Linked DNA regions of Homo sapiens: regions 1 and 2 are each linked to region 3. Evidence: promoter capture Hi-C in 16 types of primary human blood cells and fetal thymus (Javierre and others, 2016). All regions are on one chromosome and are shown on one strand. The core of a region is centred on a gene start or on the middle of the fragment in contact, and the rest is flanking DNA. Distances in the headings are between cores, read along the strand shown. Region 1 has its middle 31 kb from the start of LINC02988. Region 2 has its middle 25 kb from the start of ANP32E. Region 3 holds the start of SV2A (synaptic vesicle glycoprotein 2A).

What was found. The method cuts DNA at HindIII sites, captures the fragments that hold promoters and counts their contacts. A CHiCAGO score of 5 or more calls a contact.
Region 1: a contact is called between a fragment that was not itself captured here and the fragment with the promoter of SV2A in region 3, in 6 of 17 cell types (naive B cells, total B cells, activated CD4 T cells and 3 more). The highest score is 7.7, in naive B cells.
Region 2: a fragment that was not itself captured here is called in contact with the fragment with the promoter of SV2A in region 3 in 1 of 17 cell types (neutrophils); the score reaches 5.3 in neutrophils.

What each region holds. Positions count from the first base shown.
Region 1 is chr1:150,189,056-150,193,629 of GRCh38, reverse strand. No RefSeq gene overlaps it. Among named protein-coding and RNA genes, the nearest start is that of LINC02988, 31 kb to the right of the region's middle. The HindIII fragment of the contact is 5,180 bases long and covers 383-4,574 here.
Region 2 is chr1:150,209,046-150,213,187 of GRCh38, reverse strand. It overlaps the pseudogene RN7SL480P. Among named protein-coding and RNA genes, the nearest start is that of ANP32E, 25 kb to the left of the region's middle. The HindIII fragment of the contact is 5,688 bases long and covers 1-4,142 here.
Region 3 is chr1:149,915,171-149,919,564 of GRCh38, reverse strand. It overlaps SV2A (synaptic vesicle glycoprotein 2A), which reads left to right and starts at 1,721. Exons shown (of 13, transcript NM_014849.5): 1 at 1,721-1,826. RefSeq lists a silencer at 1,808-1,877. The HindIII fragment of the contact is 16,072 bases long and covers 1-4,394 here.

The DNA of each region.
Region 1 (4,574 bases), core at 1,723-4,222, 270 kb before region 3:
ACTGTACTTGATGTTTAGACTTAAAGCATACAGTTTTCTACAGACATTTTAGTAGCACATCAAGGAGAAAAAAATTATGTAAAACATCTCAAAAGAGAAATACAGTAAAATCTCCAAGTTACTATAGGTATATATAATCCATGTTACCAATTCAGATTAAACTGCTTAGTAGGAGGACACCTTGATGCCCACATTGATGCCAGCTGAAAATAAAGAAAATGTTCTGTAATGAACTAATTTATTCTAAACACACTATTTGAAAAGTCAGTCTACTACATGACCATTAGTTAGGGCTAAGAAGAAATCAACTCATGTCCTAATTGAAGCCAAAGGCCAAATGATATTGACACATCACAGGAGAAACAGGAGAATTTTTGAAGCTTACTTTCTTAAGATGTAAGTGCTAAACTGAATTGGCCAATTTAGAAAACAGCATCTGGATTAAACATTCTTGTTTTTCTTAAGCATTTTGGGAAAGATGAGGGACTAGTCTGTGTACAGAGTTATCTGCATAAAGTTTCAAGAGTCATAATCATAAGAACAATGAACATTATGTTGGGATTTTATCTTTTCCAAATTTGTCAATATATTGGCAAAGGAAGAAAAGTTTTCTTTTTAGAGTATGTGCTATTGCTTTAGTTATTTGGAGGAATTACAAGCCTTAAAAGTTGCAATTAGGATTCCTTAAGAGGGTCGGGTGTGGTGGCTCATGCTTGTAATCCCAGCACTTTGGGAGGCAGAGGTGGGCGGATCCCTTGAAGTCAGGAGTTCGAGACCAGCCTGGCTAACATGGTGAAACCCCGCCTCTACTAAAAATACAAAAATTAGCTGGTGTGGTGGCGCACGCCTGTAGTCCTAGCTACTCGGGGGGCTGAGGCAGGAGAATCGCTTGAACCCGGGAGGAGGAGGTTGCAGTGAGCCGAGATTGCGCCGCTACACTCCAGCCTGGGCAACGAAGTGAGGCTCCATCTCGGGAAAAAAAAAGAAAAAGGATTCTTGAAGAGTGTCCAAATAATACCTTGCAGGAAAATGAAGAGTGTATGGATGCTGCAATCAAGAGGAATTCTGGGAACTGCGAGATGAGAATGAGGCCTAACAGGTGCCATGCAGCGAGCTTTCGCAGTGGCAGCTTCCACTGTTAAAATGATAGTGGAACAAGATGAGACTAAATTGTCAGTGATTTCTCTCTATATTATGGGGATAGACCTGTTTTCTTCATTTATCAAGCTCTGCTCTCTCCTACAGACATACCTTGCTTTTTAACAACTGCCGAAAAGGTCAGCTTTCTGCTAAAGGGTCACATCAAAATAGCATTGTTAACGTTACCATTTTTGTCTTCTGAATCAGATTCTATTTTCTGAATCAAATTTCAGCCTGTTTGACAGCCAGTGTGGTTGGGCTGCTGGACTTTATCTCTTGAGATTTGATAGGTAGCTGCTTAGAATTTTCCACATATTTAAATGCATGTGTCATGTCTACTAAATGTGTCTGGTATTGCTAGAGTGGTGCTCCTTATTGTGTGTATATTTGCCCTGGATTTTAATTCTGGAATACATTATTCACTTAAAGGTAAATAGCAAGTATATTTGAGCAAAAACATTTTTATTAGCAACCATAAAAAGGGTGCATACAGTTTTATAGCCAACATGATAATATGAGATGTAATTGGACAGGCACGGTGGCTCACGCTTGTAATCCCAGCACTTTGGGAGGCCGAGGCGGGTGGATCACGAGGTCAGGAGATCGAGACCATCCTGGCTAACATGGTGAAACCCTGTCTCTACTAAAAAAAAAAAAACAAAAAACAAGACAAAAATTAAGCCGGCGTGGTGGTGGGTGCCTGTAGTCCCAGCTACTTGGGAGGCTGAGGCAGGAGAATGGCGTGAACCCAGGAGGCGGAGCTTGCAGTGAGCCGAGATCGCCCCACTGCACTCCAGCCTGGGCGACAGGGCAAGACTCCATCTAAAAAAAAAAATACATATATATATGAGATGTAATTATTTAAATGCCACAATTCTGACTGAACGGGATAGTCAAAGTACTAAAAGACTAATAAAATGCTCCTGTATTAGTTTCATATTGTTGCTATAACAAATTACCACAAATGAAGCCACTTAACACAAATTAATTTTCTTACAGTTTTAGAGGTTAGATGATGGAAATGGATCTTACGGTGCTAAAATCAAGGTGTCCACAGGGCTGTGTTCCTTCTGCGGGCTCTAGGGGAGAATCTGTTCTTTGGCTTTTCCAGCTTCTAGATGCTGCCCGAATTCCTTGGCTCATGGCCCCGCTTCATCTCAAAGCTAACTATTGCACCACGCTGACCTCCACTTCCAGCATCTCTGGCTCTGACTTTCCCGTTTCCCTCTTTTACTTATAAGGACTCTTGTGATTACGCTGGGCCCAGGATAATCTCCCCGCCTCAAAATCCTTAACTTCATCACACCTGCAAAATCCCTTTTGTCCTGTAAGGTAACATATTCACTCTGAGGATTAGGACATGGACTTAGGGTGAGGAGGGATTATTCTGCCTGCCACAGTTCCTTAATATAAAAACCTAAGGAATTTTCCTTCACCTAAGGGATTTAAAGTGCTAAGAAATTAGCAATGAATATATAAACAAATTTCTACCATAATTTGTTTTTTAGAAAAACTTCTGGATGTTTTAAATAATTGCATATTCCAGAATAGCTTGACTTTTTTATATAACTGAAAAAAGATCCTTTTAATATCTGGTGACATATACCTCTCCTCTCTCTGTGATCAGAATGATATATTTCCAGATTTTGTGTTTTGCTTTAGCTTTTTACTTCCAAGTCATATGACTTTTCTAGGTTATAGTTTCAAATATATATATTCTAAATCATTTGGTTGCCCTTTAAAGATGAAAGCATAAGAACTATTTGCACTTTGCTTTATTGTATGATTAGAAGACTTTCTAATTGCATTAATCAGAATGGGGCCAGGTGCGGTGGCTCACACCTGTAATCCCAGCACTTTGGGAGGCCGAGGCTGGTGGATGGCTTGAGCCCAGGAGTTCAAGACCAGCCTGGGCAACATGGTAAAACCTGTCTCTACCAAATCCATCCCACCCTGTGCCCCCTCCAAAATTAGCAGGGTGAGTTGGCACGTGCCTGTAGTCTCAGGTACTCTGGAGGCTGAGACAGGAGGATTGCTTGAGCTCAGGAGGCAGAGGTTGCAGTGAGCTGAGATCATGTTGCTGTACTCCAGCCTGGTGACAAAGCACGACCCTGTTTCAAAAGAAAAAAAAAGAGAGAGAGAGAGAAAGAGAATAGGATGAACCCAGTAAAAACAGAGTCAGTAATGCCACAGCCTCTGAAGAAGAGATCGGGCAGTGATCACAAACCGCTCTGGGTAGCTGTATTAGTCAGGGTTCTCTAAAGGGACAGAACTAATGGGAGAATAAAGGGGAGTTTATTAACTCACATGATCACAAGGTCCCACAATAGGCCATCTGCAGGCTGAGGAGTAAGGAGAGCCAGTCCGAGTTCCAAAACTGAAGAACTTGGAGTCTGATGTTCGAGGGCAGGAAGCAGCCAGCACGGGAGGAAGATGTAGGTTGGGAGGCTAGGCCAGTCTCTCTTTTCACATTTTTCTGCCTGCTTATATTCTAGCTGCACTGGCAGCTGATTAGGGTGCCAGATTAAGGGTGGATCTGCCGTTCCCGGCCCACTGACTCAAATGTTAATCTCTTTTTGCAACACCCTCACGGACACACCCAGGATCAATACTTTGCGTCCTTCAATCCAATCAAGTTGACACTCAGTATTAACCGTTACAGTAGCTAAAACAGATTTCCATTCCAACGGTCTGCTAATAAGAGCTTGACGATTGTAGAGCTCTATGACTTTCAATTTCACTAAATGATAAAAAAAACTAGGTCTGAAAATGTTAATAAAGAATGAAATATTTTTAATTATACAAATGTATTTAGGCCGGGCATGCTGGCTAATGTCTGTAATACCAGCACTTTGGGAGGCCAAGGAGGGCAAATCACTTGAGCTCTGGAGTTCAAGACCAGCCTGGGCAATATGGTGAAACCCCGTCTCTACTAAAATTACAAAAATTAGCCAGGCGTGGTGGTGCGTGCCTGTAGTCCCTGTTACTCTGGAGGCTGAGGCACGAGAATCACTTGAGCCCGGGAGGCAGGGAGGTTGCAGTGAGCAGAGGTTGCACCACTGCACTCTAGCCTGGGCGACAGAGCGAGACTCTGTCTCAAAAAAAAAAATTATTATTTTTTGAGACAGAAAAAAATTATTATTTTTTTGATACAGGTTGCTCACTGCAACCTCCGCCTCCCAGACTCAAATGATTCTCGTGCCTCAGCCTCCCCAGAAACTGGGATTACAGGCATGCACCACCAAGCCTGGCTAATTTTTTGTATTTTTAATAGAGACGGGGTTTCACCATGTTGCCCAGGCTGGTCGCAAACTCCTGGCCTCAAGTAATCCACCTGTCTCAGTCTCCCAAACTGCTGGGATTACAGGCATGAACCACTGCTCCCGGCCCGATTATTCTTATTTTTTGTTTAGTTCTTCAGTGAAATCAACTAA
Region 2 (4,142 bases), core at 1,309-3,808, 290 kb before region 3:
TGAGTGTGGTTTATCAAGTGCTGCGTTTGCAGCTGAGGCCACTTTCGCTTCTGTCACTTGTTTGTGCACAGTCTGGTTCAAGTTTGCACTTAGGTGACCTTTGCTTAAGTGAATTTCTCTTCTTGTCCCCAGGGGCTAACCTACTATTCCACGTTGTTCCTACTCCTATTTTTCTTCTATTTTATTTTATTATTTATTTATTTATTTATTTTTTTGAGACAGAGTCTTGCTCTGTCGCCCAGGCTGGAGCACAGTGGCACGATCTCGGCTCACTGCAAGCTCTGCCTCCCAGGTTCACGCCATTCTCCTGCCTCGAGTAGCTGGGACTATAGGCGCCCGCCACCACGCCTGGCTAATATTTTGTATGTTAAGTGGAGATAGGATTTCACCGTGTTAGCCAGGATGGTCTCGATCTCCTGACCTCGTGATCTGCCCTCCTCGGCCTCCCAAAGTGCTGGGATTACAGGCGTGAGCCACCGCGCCCGGCCTTTTCTTCTATTTTAAAGCCAGAATTGCTGAATTGAACGGTCAAGTTGGTACCTAAGAACGAATCAATTCTGGAAAATATTGGAGCAACCAGCTACCCAGAGGGAAACCGTTGAAAAATGACATGTAGCCCACATGTAAAGTGATTAAGAGCTTTAAGGTATAAGATGTAGGATCCTTTTCCTCTCTCTCCGAAGGAAAGAATGGGTCCATTGAGGGACATTTTGTAGAGGTCACTGTGTGAGATTATTAACATTTTTCTTCTTTTAATTAGGACAACTAAATTATAGTTTGTTAGAAGTGTCTTAAACTATTGAAGAAAAACTGTCATCAAATTATACTTTTTTTGTGTGTGTGACAGAGTCTCGCTCTGTTGCCAGGCTGGAGTGCAGTAGCACGATTTCGGCTCATTGCAACCTCCGCCTCCTGAGTTCAAGCGATTCTCCTGCCTCAGCCTCCAGAGTAGCTGGGACTACAGGCGCGCGCCAACACATGGTGAAACCCCATCTCTATTAAACATACAAAAATTATACGTTTTATTGGCATCAGTCACTTTTCAGAGAATATTTGCTTCACTTTTTCTTGTGCAACCAAAAGATGTCTTTGATCCTATGGAAGGAGAAGAGAATAATTAAATTTGAAATCTTGTATACACAATTTTTATTAAAATGTCAAAGGACAGTTACATGTTTCTATAGAATTAGCATATGTATATATATACGCTCTATCTATCTATCTATCTATCTATCTATCTATCTATCTATCTATCTATCTAGAGAGACAGGGTCTGTTACCCAGGGTGGAGTGCAGTGGCTATTCACAAGCACGATCCTGCTACTGATCCGCACGGGAGTTTTGACCTGCTCTATTTCTGACCTTGGCCAGTTTACCCCTCCCCTTAGGCAACCTCGTGGTCCCCTGTTCCTGGGAGGTCACCATATTGGTGCCGAACTTAGTGCGGACACGCGATCGGTATAGCACACTACAGCCCAGAACTCCTGGGCTCAAGCCGTCTCCTGCCTCAGCCTCCCAAGTAGCTGGGACTACAGGCACGGGACACCGCGCCTGGCAAAGTTAACAAATATTTAACTGCAGTAAAACTAATGTCAGTAGTTTCTCAGGCATTTTCATTGGCTTTTACAAAGTCACAAAATTGGGTAAAATGAGGGCCATTTACTTTATTTAAAAAAAAGAGGCCGAGCGCTGTGGCTCACGCCTGTAATCCCAACACTTTGGGACGCCGAGGCAGGTGGATCACAAGGTCAGGAGTTGGAGAGCAGCCTGGCCAATATGGTGAAACCTCGTCTCTACTAAAAAATACAAAAATTAGCCGGGCATGGTGGCACGTGCCTGTAATCCCAGCTACTCAGGAGGCTGAGGCAGGAGAATCGCTTGAACCTGGGAGGTGGAGCTTGCAGTGAGCCAAGATCGCGCCACTGCACTCTGGCCTGGGCAACAGAGTGAGACTCTGTCTCAAAAAAAGAAAAAAAAAAAAAAAAGAGATGAGAATATTCTTGGATTTTAAGAAGCCAAGATTTTCTAGTGGGTAATAGCATTTCTCAGAAAAGACTTTTTCTTTTAACAGACTAAATATTTAGGAAAACTTTTTTTCTTATATTGAGGGATTGTATTTTCAGCATTGTTTCGATGTTGCCGCAATATTTTAAAAAATACTTATTAGCAGGTGGAGATGATGTGAATTTGTTGTTTACAACCCGTAGGATATTGAAGAGCTACCTGCTGAGAGAGGAGCTGCTACCATCTGGTCTCTGCTATGAGGCCAAAGCACTACATTGGTCCCATGATAAACCTACTTTTCTTTTTGTGTCATTTATTTTCCTTTCCACTGCTATTCTATATCAGCCTTGAGGTTGCTATTGGAGTTGAGGGACAAATAAGAGGTCATATAATGTAGGCCATCGCATAATGATGAAACATCAATTCTGTGGTCTGTCTCTAAGGCTCTGTCCTTGATAATAAAATACAGTGTGCTGTAATGGTTATCAAGTTTCCACTCCATATTATTAGGTTATTAGCTATTAATTAGATATCACTTGCCATTTTTACTTTACATGACTGTAAATAACTGCTGTCTTTCAGATCTTCATGTACTCAATCTTTACAAGCGGTTTGCAATTAACATATTAAGAAAAAAACCATGGAGAATTATGTGCAAATCCTTTTCAAGGCAAGCAGTCTTACAGCTATGATCAAAGGCATAAAATGTAGAATATTTAACAAACTTTTAAAATCCTTTGTTTAAGGAACATAAGTGATAGGAAAACAAATATGAATGATACCAACTCTATCCCTTGAAAAACAGCCTAAACCCAAGATTATAAACCAAGAGCGAAATTGCAGGCAGAGAAATGGCTGAGCTGACAGCTTGTGCCCAGAAAGCTCAGAAGATGCCAAAACTTTGATTTGCTCACTTCAGTGAAGGCGTGATCCTTCATTTTGCAGGGCTATAGAAGGAGATGTATTTGAGTTTGTAAATACAAAATCGATCAATATGTGAGGGACAGACTTGTGCCGTGAAAATTCACCAAAGTCAGATTTCTAAATCAAGTTGTCAATTTATTAATTTACAGGGAGAATGTATATTTACATTGTTTATGGTATTATTGTTCAGTGTTCTAAATTGGCGCTCTTTAATAGACATATAATTCTGTCAAAAATGCAAGTTGGTGGAGTGCGGTGGCTCTCACCTATAATCCCAGCACTTTGGGAGGCCAAGGCGGGTGGATCACCTGAGGTCAGGAGTTGGAGACCAGCCTGGCCAACATGGTGAAACCCTGTCTCTACTAAAAACACAAAAATTAGCCAGGCATGGTGGTGGGTGTCTGTAATCCCAGTTACTCGGGAGGCTGAGGTAGGAGAATTGTTTGTGCCTGGGAGGCAGAGGCTGCAGTAAGCCAAGATCGAGCCACTCTACTCCAGCCTGGGTGACAGAATGAGACTCTGTCTCAAGAAATAAATAAATAAATAAAATAAAAATGCAAGTCACAGATGTATTTAGAATTTTCTAGTAGACATATTTAAAAAACTAAAAAGAAACAGGTAAAATTAATTTTAATGTATTTTAATTAACCCAACATATTCAAAATATTATACTTTCTACATGTAATCAATGTAAAAAATCATTAGTAAGATGTTTTGTATTTTTTTCATGCAAAGTCTTCCAAATCTGGGATGGATTTTATGCTTACAGCAAATCTCAATTCAGATAGCCACTTTTCTTTCTTTCTTTTTTTTTTTAACAGAGTTTTATTTTTATTTAGTTACTTTCTTCTTCTTTTTTTTCTTTTTATAAAGATAGGATCTCACCATGTTGCCCAGGCTGGTCTCAAACTCCTGGGCTCAAGTGATCCTCCCTCCTTGGCCTCCCAAAGTGCCTGGATTAGCCACATTTCAAGTGCAGTAGTCATGTTGCTAGGTGAAGGTCTCGTGTATCCCTTCTAGGAAAGGTAACTGAGAGGCCAAGTGCACAATCAGAATCCTCTCAGGTGAGCATAGAAGTGGAGGAGAGGGTGCTAGAGGGATATTTTATGTGTTTGACAAGTATGAGGAACCTACCCTGATCCACACTATTCTTTCTAGAGGTTTTAGTATTTGTTGTGTTCAGTTTGTCTGACTTTGGCAGCAGTACGCTCAGC
Region 3 (4,394 bases), core at 472-2,971:
GTGTTAACCTGAAGACGGGTCAGCAATGAAAGTCTAGTAAAGGGAGAGTCCCTGAGGCCAGTCCAAGCACCATCCTGGAAAGCCGTCACATTCAGAGTAGTCCAGGAGTGCTGGCAAGGCTGCCAATAGCAAAGAGGTGGGGGTAGAAGATTGTTGCCAAGAAGAGTTTTCTGGACCCATTGGCATGGCTGCTTATTGCAGATGGCCAGATGCCATTAAAGATACAAATCCTCCAGTAATGTCATTGTGCATTTATACATTGACATTATGATTCTGATTTGGCTTCAGGGAGAGAATGTACTAGACATGTAGATATGAGTTTTCAGTCTGAGTGACAGTTAAATATTTATGATAAATTAATATTTATGTATTATGGCTTTATATTTCAGAAGATTGTGAACTTTGTTGGCATGAATGATTATTTCCAAGATCCAGCTTTGGAGTCTGCAAAGCCCAGGCCCGTGTCCCTGTCAGAGGTAAATTCAACCTGGCAAATGTTACCTGTGTGGTCTCTTCGGACATAGCCTGTCAGCCTTCTCCATGTATATATATCAGCATTCTGAAGCCTCCACATTTAGTAAGGCAGAATCACACGCTATTAGATCTGAGAGGGACCTGATGCAGTATCTAGTCCAAGCCCCCCTTTTCCAGATGAGAAACCTGAAGTTCACAGATGTGGAGAACTTGACCAAGAGTTGACAGCTTGTTAGCAGTGAGAACCCAGGTCCAAGCCCAGGTCAGTGCTGTCTGGAAGGTCCTGACCTTATCTGGCATAGACACATTCAGGATGTATTTCCCCAAATCACCATATTCCCTCTCACTCCTTCGGCAGGGATGGTCATCAAGTGTCACCAAGTGGCATGTCTTGGATCTCTGAGTCCAGGTTATTGATGCAAGAGCAAAGGAAAGATGAAGGGAAAAGCTGAAACAATTTACTTCTTCCTGCCCGGGAAGTACAAGTGTGTGGAGGGGAGGGGAGGGAGGTAGAGGAGAGTAAGAGAAAATGGAGAAGGGTATTGAGAGGATCCTTTTTGAGTCATTGGAGCAAATTAATGGAAGGGGAACTGTCCGGTTGGTCAGGTCTGTAAAAATCCCTCAACTTCCCCAGTACTTCTGCTACCACCAACTGAATGGACAGGATGAGGAGGTGTCCACTGTAAATAAGTAACCTGGACTGTTTTGTGAGGAAAGAGATGGAAGGAATCCAGGGGTCTCTGACTCTGGCAGTTCAGGATAGAAACCACACCTTGTTATCTCTGCTTTCTCTAAAATGTCCAGGTAAACTTGGAATAGGAGCACTCTGGATTTGGGAGACTGTTGTGAAAAAGGAGTTTGAGAGCAGTGGAGAAGGCAAGGGAGGTGTTTTGAAGGCAGCAAAAGCCCCTGAAATTATTGGGTCCTGCCATACTGAGACTGGGGTGCTAAGGAAGGGGCTGCCACATTCCCCATCTCCCTGTCTTCCCACTTGTCTTCCTAACATCACTGTTTTTTTCTTTAGTTCCTTCTATCTTTTACTAGGAAGGGCCTGGGAAGGGCTGGGTGCCATTTCCAGCTGTTCTTGTGACAACCTCCGGCCCTTTCATCATTTCTCCCCGTGCCCTGACTCCCTCCCCATCCTCTTTTCTCCTCTCCCCACCAATGGTCTCTCCCGATGCTCAGTGGCGCGGGGTAGGGGGGGGCGGAGGCGGGGCTGGAGTGGTGGAAGGGGGGTGGCAGGTCTGCATTGCCGCTTCCCTGGTGCCGGGAGCAGTCGCCGCTGCCGCCTCCGCCCGCGGCCGGGACCCCCGTCCTCGCCCGGGACTCCTTACCCGGGGAACCTAGACCAGGTGAGACCCCTTTCTCAGTCGCTCACCTCCTCCCCGCCCCTGGCAGAAGCATCTTTGCCTTGCCTTGCAGCCATTTTATCCTCCGATGCTTTGCTTATGGGGAGGGTGACGATCCCCTCTCTAGGGGTGAGGGGGGTTGGTGGGTTGGTGGTGGTTTGGGGATGGACATTTATTTCAGTTGTGCTCTTCAGGACACACACACACACACGCATATGTATAATATTGGTGAATGGGGAGGAGGGGTGTTTTTCTCTACCTTAACCAAGTCCCCACTATCCCCTTCGGAGATTAACGTGGTGGTGGGGTTGTGAGGTGGGATGAGGTTCCCTCAAACTCCTATCCCCTCCTCACCTTGACGTCCCCCCACCCCCAGGATGAATGATAAATGACCTTGGCTGGGGCTGGAGAATGGATGCTGCCTCAGTGTGCACGCCTGGACTTGGGTGGGTGGGGGGCAGGGGAAGAAGGGCAGGTGAAGGATGGAGGGAAGGGGAGTGAAGAATGGAAATACTGGGGAGACAGAGATGTAGAGCCGCCAGGTGTTGGGGGCATGGATGGCGGGGGCTGGCGGCAGTTGCTCCGGGGTGGGGGGAAGGGATGTTGAGTGAAGGTGGACACTTGTCTAGCAGCAGGACCAAGGGTGGAGGAGGTGCTCAGAGCAGGGATTTAGTCAGTTCTGGGGGCTTTTCCCTTATTCCGGAGCTGAGGCAAGATGGGGTGTGGGGGGGTCGCTGCAAATGCTGATAGGGGCGGTCTCTATGTCTGTGCATGCGGAGGTCTCTCCCTGCGTCCCCCTCTCTGCCTCTCCGTATTCCTCAGTGTGCATTCTCAGCTGACACCCTCATTTTTATCCCTCAGAACTGTGGGTGCTCCTATCTTCCTAACCTTGGTAGGATGTGGGGAGGGGAGGCGCAGTCTTGATGGTCCTGGGTGGGGGCTGAAGTTCGATGACCGGGCTGTCATGGGGAAGGGGTGCTCCCGCACCTCCCACATTCTACCCCCGCCCCCGCGGACGTTTTGATAAGTGATTGCTTTTTAATGACCTTGTCACCTGAGCTAGGAAGGCCTGGGGATCTGGGTGGACCCCAAAGTCAGGGGCTTTGACTGGGAGGGTGGGGGGTTCTGGACCCAGGGCTGGATGAGCTGTTCTGAAAGAAAGCATTTGCTCTGGAGTCCCCTGCCTGTCTCCACCCTCTGCAGAAAATCTCCTGGGCACATTTTTTCCTGTCAGGTGAAGTCAGCCAGCCTAGGACCTTGTAACCCTGAACCTTGTCTCCTTTAACCTCCACCTCTCCAAGTCTTGTCTCACTCCCCCAGGCTTAGCCACCCTGTGCTGTTTTGGGGGCTAAAAATAGCACCACTTCCTCACCAGCTCAAAGAATTTGTCTTCTTTCTTTCTCTCCTGACCTCCTGGGCTTGCTGGCCCTGAGGAAGCTGGCTGTTGAGACCTCATATCCTGCTGTGGTTGTGGAAGGCTTCCCTGCCCTACGTGCCCCTCTCAGGGGGAAATAGGGTCAACAAACATAGAGTATGGCTCCTGGTGGGTCCTGCCTCCTTCAGGGCTGGAGGGGAGATCCTGGTTAGGAAAGAGAGGAAAGCTAGCAAATTGCCATGCGCTGAGGGGATTCCGCAGTTCCAGCTCTTTCATGGGGGATGGTTGGGCCCTGAACCATGAAGAAAAGGTGACATAGGGGTCACTGCTTCTGGTCACCGTGGTCCACTGCTTACATCTGTCCTGAGGGGATAAGGCGCTGCTTGCCAGTGCTTCTCTCTGAACCACATAGCATTGCTTACCGTCTTCTACCAGGGCGTGTGTGTGTGTGTGCGTGTGTGTGTGTGTGTGTGTGTTTTAATGAAGGCCCTGGATGGGTGGGAGCACCGGAGGCAGGATATTTTTAGGGGGATGATTTCTGATCAGAATCTAGGCCTGCTTCCTCTGCTCCTATGAAGGAAGGGGGCTATCCCATGCCTTCCTCTGGAGAATGTCTTTTTTGGGGGGACACCCAAACCCCCTTTATTCTACATCCGCCTCCTACGCAATGCGGTGTTTGTGGACTCCTTCTTCCTTGACTCCTGGAGGAGGAGCAGAAAGGATTAAGGGGGATTAGGAAGGGAGGCCCTGGAGGGATGGGATGCAACTGTAGGCCTTAGAACCTCATGTTGGAAATGTATGCATTTGACAGTCATTTCCATTCTCACCCCCATCTGTGGAAAGGGGGCCTATCTATGACATTCTGAAGCAAGGTGGCAGTGGACAGTCATCACCTCTTTCTTAGCTTTCCATCTTTCCTCCACTTTACTTGGGTTCCAGGTCCCCCTTTTCTGGATCTTCCCTTGTTCTTCTGGAGGTAGTTAATGTGGGCCCAGCTACTGGAATTAGTTGAAACATAGATAGGGGTGTCTTGGGACTCTGTTTGCAAGGATGCTGGGCAACAGCATCTAAGTATGACCCCCCTGTTGTCCCTTGCTGCTTCCTGTTTCTTTCCCACTTTCAACATCATAGGAAGGAAGAAAACTAACATAGAGTATCTACTGTGAGATTACATTCTCACATCAACTCCAAGAAAC